2 separate regions of the Homo sapiens genome follow, and region 1 is linked to region 2. The links are contacts of gene promoters, found by promoter capture Hi-C in human tissues and cell types (Jung and others, 2019). All regions are on one chromosome and are shown on one strand. The core of a region is centred on a gene start or on the middle of the fragment in contact, and the rest is flanking DNA. Distances in the headings are between cores, read along the strand shown.

Evidence for each region. Contacts are between HindIII fragments. The study calls those that stand out against the background at their distance.
Region 1: a contact is called between a fragment that was not itself captured here and the fragment with the promoter of ELAVL2 in region 2, in 2 of the 25 tissues and cell types used here (dorsolateral prefrontal cortex and mesenchymal stem cells).

The regions. Positions count from the first base shown.
Region 1 is chr9:23,550,957-23,553,656 of GRCh38, reverse strand. It overlaps LOC101929563 (a long non-coding RNA gene), which reads left to right. Exons shown (of 28, transcript NR_121602.1): 13 at 727-1,117. Among named protein-coding and RNA genes, the nearest start is that of ELAVL2, 270 kb to the left of the region's middle. The HindIII fragment of the contact is 3,320 bases long and covers 1-2,700 here.
Region 2 is chr9:23,824,796-23,827,564 of GRCh38, reverse strand. It overlaps ELAVL2 (ELAV like RNA binding protein 2), which reads left to right and starts at 1,325. Exons shown (of 7, transcript NM_004432.5): 1 at 1,325-1,759. It overlaps LOC105375992 (a long non-coding RNA gene), which reads right to left and starts at 1,137. Exons shown (of 3, transcript XR_929519.3): 1 at 1,048-1,137. The HindIII fragment of the contact is 12,029 bases long and covers 1-2,769 here.

The sequences.
Region 1 (2,700 bases), core at 197-2,696, 270 kb after region 2:
TGCATCCAGTGCCTTCAAATCACTACTCACTCTTGGCTAGTGTTGAATCCCAAGGCTGAGTGGGCTGCCTCCTTTGGAAGCTTAGTGCATCCTGAGGTTCTAAAAATGGTTACAGTGAAACAAAAACAGCTGTGTCAATTTCCAATTTCCGCTCTATTCAGATTCACACTCTGCCTCCTCTCCTCTCTTAGAGGCAGTGGGACACAGGCACACACATGCACTCATTCCACCTCCTTTCCTCCCTCAGGCGTGGAAGGACATGAGCGTGCACACAAGCAGGCACACACAGACACACATGTGCGCACTCTGCCGCCTCTCTCTCACTTACTTGAGTTCATTTCCCCATGGAGAGGGAATGTTTCTAGTTTTCCAAAAAGGAATGGCAAACAAGAGAAGCCACAAGAGCCTAGACTACAATAAAATGCTACAATATGCTTTCAAGCTGGAGCGACTAAAAAGCTGGGAAGAGAAAGCGGCAGTATAATGTCTATTTTTATCTTCAACTATAATCTACCCACTTGTAGTTTCATAGCTGTCAGGAGGCAGAAAAGGACATGGAATCAGCCTACTGTTCTCTGCTCGCATCCTACACCTGTGTGGCATGAATGTGGGTGTGTGTGCACATACACAGATACTTTAACACACTGTCAGAGGATTTGATTGAACTCACACCTGAAGCCAGATTTTTTTTAGAAGTTGTCCCTTTGTTCATTATTTCTTGGCCAGGCACAGAAAATTAAAAGCAGGTTATTGAAACCCATTTTCTGGGTCCTGAAGGATAACTGTTAGCCTTGGATGATCAGAAGGAGCAGCTATGCACCTATTAGGCTTTGTCAGCCTTGGCCACACTGGGTTATGGGGATTCCTAACCTCCTGAACACTACTCACTAGTTTGGTGATTATCTATCTCCTTGAGAGAAGGCAAGTATGGCCCAATGGAAATAGCACAGCCTTGGAGTCGGGACACCTGAGCATCTTGCCTCATTCTGCCATGTACAAACTCTGTGGCCTCCAGCAAGTTCCTTTACCACTCTGAACCACAGTGTCCTCATCTGCAGAGGGACGACAACCCCTATTTGATGATTGTTGGGAGAATTCAAGATAATGTATGCAAACAGTAAGTGTTATATGGTAGAGGCTAAAGAAATGCTGACTACTGTTATTTTTGTTATTGCTGTTTTATCTGCATTATTATTTTATTAATAGTAGTCGTAGAAGTAGTAGAGGTAGTTTGGGGTTTGATTTCTACATCTGTTCTATATTCTTGGTTCTGTTTCAGTTGTTACTCTCCTATATTGGTGGTGTGAGGTATCACATAAGGTTCCTACATCATCATCATAAGCAAGGCAGAGGAAGGACCTGCTTTGGGTGTAAGGCTTAGCTTTTGAAAAATGTCTGGGATGCCCTAGTCTCCTTTAACATGCTGGCAGATAAAGGACTTAAAATCTTAATGGAGAAGTTCAGTCCCTTGAAAGCTCCTTCTATCAGAAGCTTCCTTTTTAGCTGTTTCAGTGACATCTTAGTACATATGGGGGAACTGAGAGTAAGTCTGGTGATAATTCTTCAGAAAGTCAAGCACCTGGAGTCATACAGGTCTCCATTCAAGGGCTGTCCCTGCCTTTTATTAACCACATGAACTTGTGTATTTTGTTGAACCTTTGAAGGACTCAAATTTTCTCATCCGTAAAACAATACGTTTACAGTGATATGGTGAGGTTCAAAGTGTGAAAACACTATAAACCCTAGAGGATCAGATAACTGTTAACATGCTACTGTTATCGTAAAATATTGCAGGAGGATGATCCGGCCTTTACAAGTTTTGAAGTCTAAAGAAACACAGTAATTCCTGTGGGCTCCAAACCAGTTTTTTGCAAATGAAGTATTATTTTTGAGCATAGGTCTCCCTCTGTGCATTACTCCCAGCCTGCGTGCGGACCCTGAGCTACACACCACACAGTCATGCCTTTGTCTGGAAGCTCATTAATGCAGCAACAACTTCAACAGAAGAGCAGCTGTGTGGTGGTGTCTGGCTCACTGAGAGGGACACACAGGTCCTGCTGCTGCTATTAAGCATTTGCAAGGTGACAGATTGCCTCAATGACGTGTCCATGTGCTTCCTCATTATAATGCCTCAGGTCTAGAAAAAAAGCCTGGACCCACCAAAAAGCTTTCACAGATTGGAAAGTGCACAGTTTGGGGGTGTTTAGCACTTCAGCACATGCTCTGTGACTGTGCATTCAAGGCAACATGTCACAAGAAATTAGTCTGCAGCAGGCCACATATGTCAGCCAGCCGGTGGAAGCATTTGCCCAACACCCAGGCAAGAGACTCAGAAGAAAAGGCTGCTCACCTTAAATCGCCCTCACGGTTAGCACATTGGTGAGATCATCCAGAATCCTCTGCTCAGGTACAATATTGCTGTGGAGAAGCAGGAGCTTGGATAAAGGGAGAAGTAACCAGGAGGTGCTAAGGGGGGGAAAAAAGGCATCTCATGCCATTTACTTTGCATCAGGCAGAGAGAGATTTGCGTTGCACACATTATCACATAATATAACAGTCCTGCCAAGTGAGCACTATTAATATCTGAATTTCCAGATGGGAAGATGGAAGCTAGGAGAGGCCATGTGTCTTGAAAGCCATCTAACTAGGGAGTCCCCCAAAGATCTCTTAAAATCTAAAGTCTACCGACACTCCTTCCCT
Region 2 (2,769 bases), core at 76-2,575:
TAATGTAATGTGTACATTACATTTACACATTCTGGTAAGAATGGTAAAAACTGTCTAGGAAGTTGGTGCTATCTTTCAAGATTGAAAAGAGAAATGCTGGCTGGAAAAGAACGTAGGTCAAATGAATATTGTGTCTACTTATACATCCAGACGATCCTGAGGACCTCACTTTCACTTAGAGGAAGAAACAATTATCATGCATAAAACTGTATTTTGGTCTCCTGAATGCTGTTAAAATATGGGGTTGTAATAAAGTAGTCTTCCTCTATGAAGCAGAAGCATTGATAGCACTTGGTCTTCTGGTTAAACTTCTTAAATCCTCACAGAAAGAGCCCTGATAAAGGTTCAACTATCTTTGCTGTCAGCAATACATGTGTGGTCCAAGGACTGTACCTGTCTGCAAATGCAGAGGAGTGGCTTGTTCCAGTTTTATATACAGCTGCTCTTTTTGAGAATCATTAGACACCTCGAAGTGAAGGACCTTAGCTCTACTCAATACCTCTTTTTCTGGATAGGATATTTATCCTACACTTTTCTATTCTAACATGAAGTGAAAGCCAATTCAAACCGTGCAGCTTTATTTGAGAGCATTTCTGACTTCATCTTTATCTTAAAAGGATGCTTTAAAAAGGGGTTCATGGGGACACATAAATCTGAAATATGCGTATATTAAAATAAAGACATACAATTACCTAACATCTAATACAAAATACAGTACTGAACACAAATCGAAAAAAGGCATGCGGGCAAATAATGGATGTACATTCATCCCTTTCACTCAGATCAAAGAGAGGGAGCTCTCAATGACTCATACATACCGGACAGAGTTAAATGTTATAAAGAAATATGCCACAGATGCAGCAGTGATGGCAAAGGAAATGAATCTTTCTGAAGCAGAAAGATTTAAGAGGAAAGGAGATCGTGCCATATCGCAAACTCTGATAGTACAGTTCCAACCCTCCCACGTTGCTCTCTCCACATTTCTTTTTGCTTCTTGCATTTCCCTTCGCCGCCAGTGTTAAGAGTGTACCTCCCCGCACAACTTACCTTGAAACGGGACTCCATTGAGCTCTCGAGAGTGACACAAGCCCATAGCCAATCGTCTCACGCGGCCCCGCCTGGGCGGCCTCAATGGAAGCGTGTGGACCAATCAGGATCCTGGGGCGATGAGCAAGTTACGTTGTGGCGCGATTCGGCGTATACTTCCGCGCGTGCTGCCCGGGATAGGAGCCTGGCAGAGCAGCTGCACACACGGCAGTGCGGAGGCAGAGAAGGGGTTGGTGATACGGTGCTATAAATCTGTGGTCCAGTCCACCTCCCTTTTAAGACGTCCTCCCCCCTATTTCTGTTCTTAGTTAGAGATGCAGCAGCTTACTCCTGTAGCGACCTACTAAAAAGCAACAAGGAGAAAGACATCGTCTTTTTGAAAAAACGTTCTTTCGTCTCTTTTCTTTGTTCCTTGGTTTGTTTTTCTTGCCCCTTTTTGTTTAGTTGAACGGCAATAGGAGGGTAGTCTCTCCGTCTTTTTAAACTCTTTTTTAAGTTTCCCCTCCCCTTTCATATTTTTTTTCGCCATTTCTTTTAGCATTGGACTTTGGGGTCGAAAGCGTTTCTTTTTATTTGCTTCTTTTAAGCCGAGCACAGTTTAGGTTTCGTGCTGTCTTAAGAGAACTATCCAGCAGCTTCTTGCTCATCCTTATTGGGAGAACTGCACCGTTACTTTAAAAACACACATACACAAAAACCTTAAGGGAGAAAGGTAAGTTTCGGTTTGGTTTCTTTAATCATTAGTTGCAGCGATGCGCTGGCAAACCCAGAAAACCTGTAAGTGAGCGGAATACAGAATATGAAGTTAATTGCACATGTTTGTCTCATTTCAAAGCTACTGTTCTGCTTTTTTAATTTTAAAGAGCTAGACTAAAAGACGGTGGACGCATGCTTAGCGTACTGAATATTCGTAAATGTCCATGGCAGAAACTTAAGTGGTAAATGTGGCCAGGGGGGAGTAGGGGTACAATGGGAGGTTAGATGTGGAGTGAGCTTCAAGATTGAGATCGGAAGTTCATTTCGTGGGGAGAGAGTGATAACTTGGGTGTTGGGGATGCATGCCTCTACTTTGGCTCAGCAACGGAAGGACGGGAGAGGCTTTACAATCATTAAGGGGAATCAGAAGCCTGGACTGGCAGATTAGACCAGCGAAAACCACAGGCTTAATTGCATTAACCAGATAGCATGTGCTGGGGAGATGGGATTGCCAGATGGAATTTAGATGCTGCACCAGGCAGCGAGTTGTAGTTGACTGAAAAAAGTACATGCCGCCTGAGGGCTGGGGCTGGGGCTGGGCTGAGGCTAGGGTTGTTAGAAGCTGTCAGAACTCATCATTGTATGCGGGCTCTGATTCACGGACTCCAATTATCATAATTCAGTTTTAAAAGAAGATAGCCAATTTGGGGCTGAATTCTTAAGCCTGTACCGGATATGAGATTCCCTTTGTTCAGAAAAGCGTAAATAAGATCCTTGGAGCTGTGTCTATGAAGTGCCGGCTGCTTGGGAGCCTCGCTGTGCTGGGCGCTGGGAAGTGGATTCCAAGCCCTGTCCTTGGTCCTACGCGGCTGACTTCGCCTTCGGGGAGAGGGGGAACCCCTCTGCAGCCGCGAGGCTTCGCAGCCACCCCAGGAGCCAACTCGGCCACGTAGCCCTCACCCCCTCCTTACCGCCCCCACTTCCTCGAATAGCTATTGTTAAATTGACGCCAGGAGAAAGATGGTT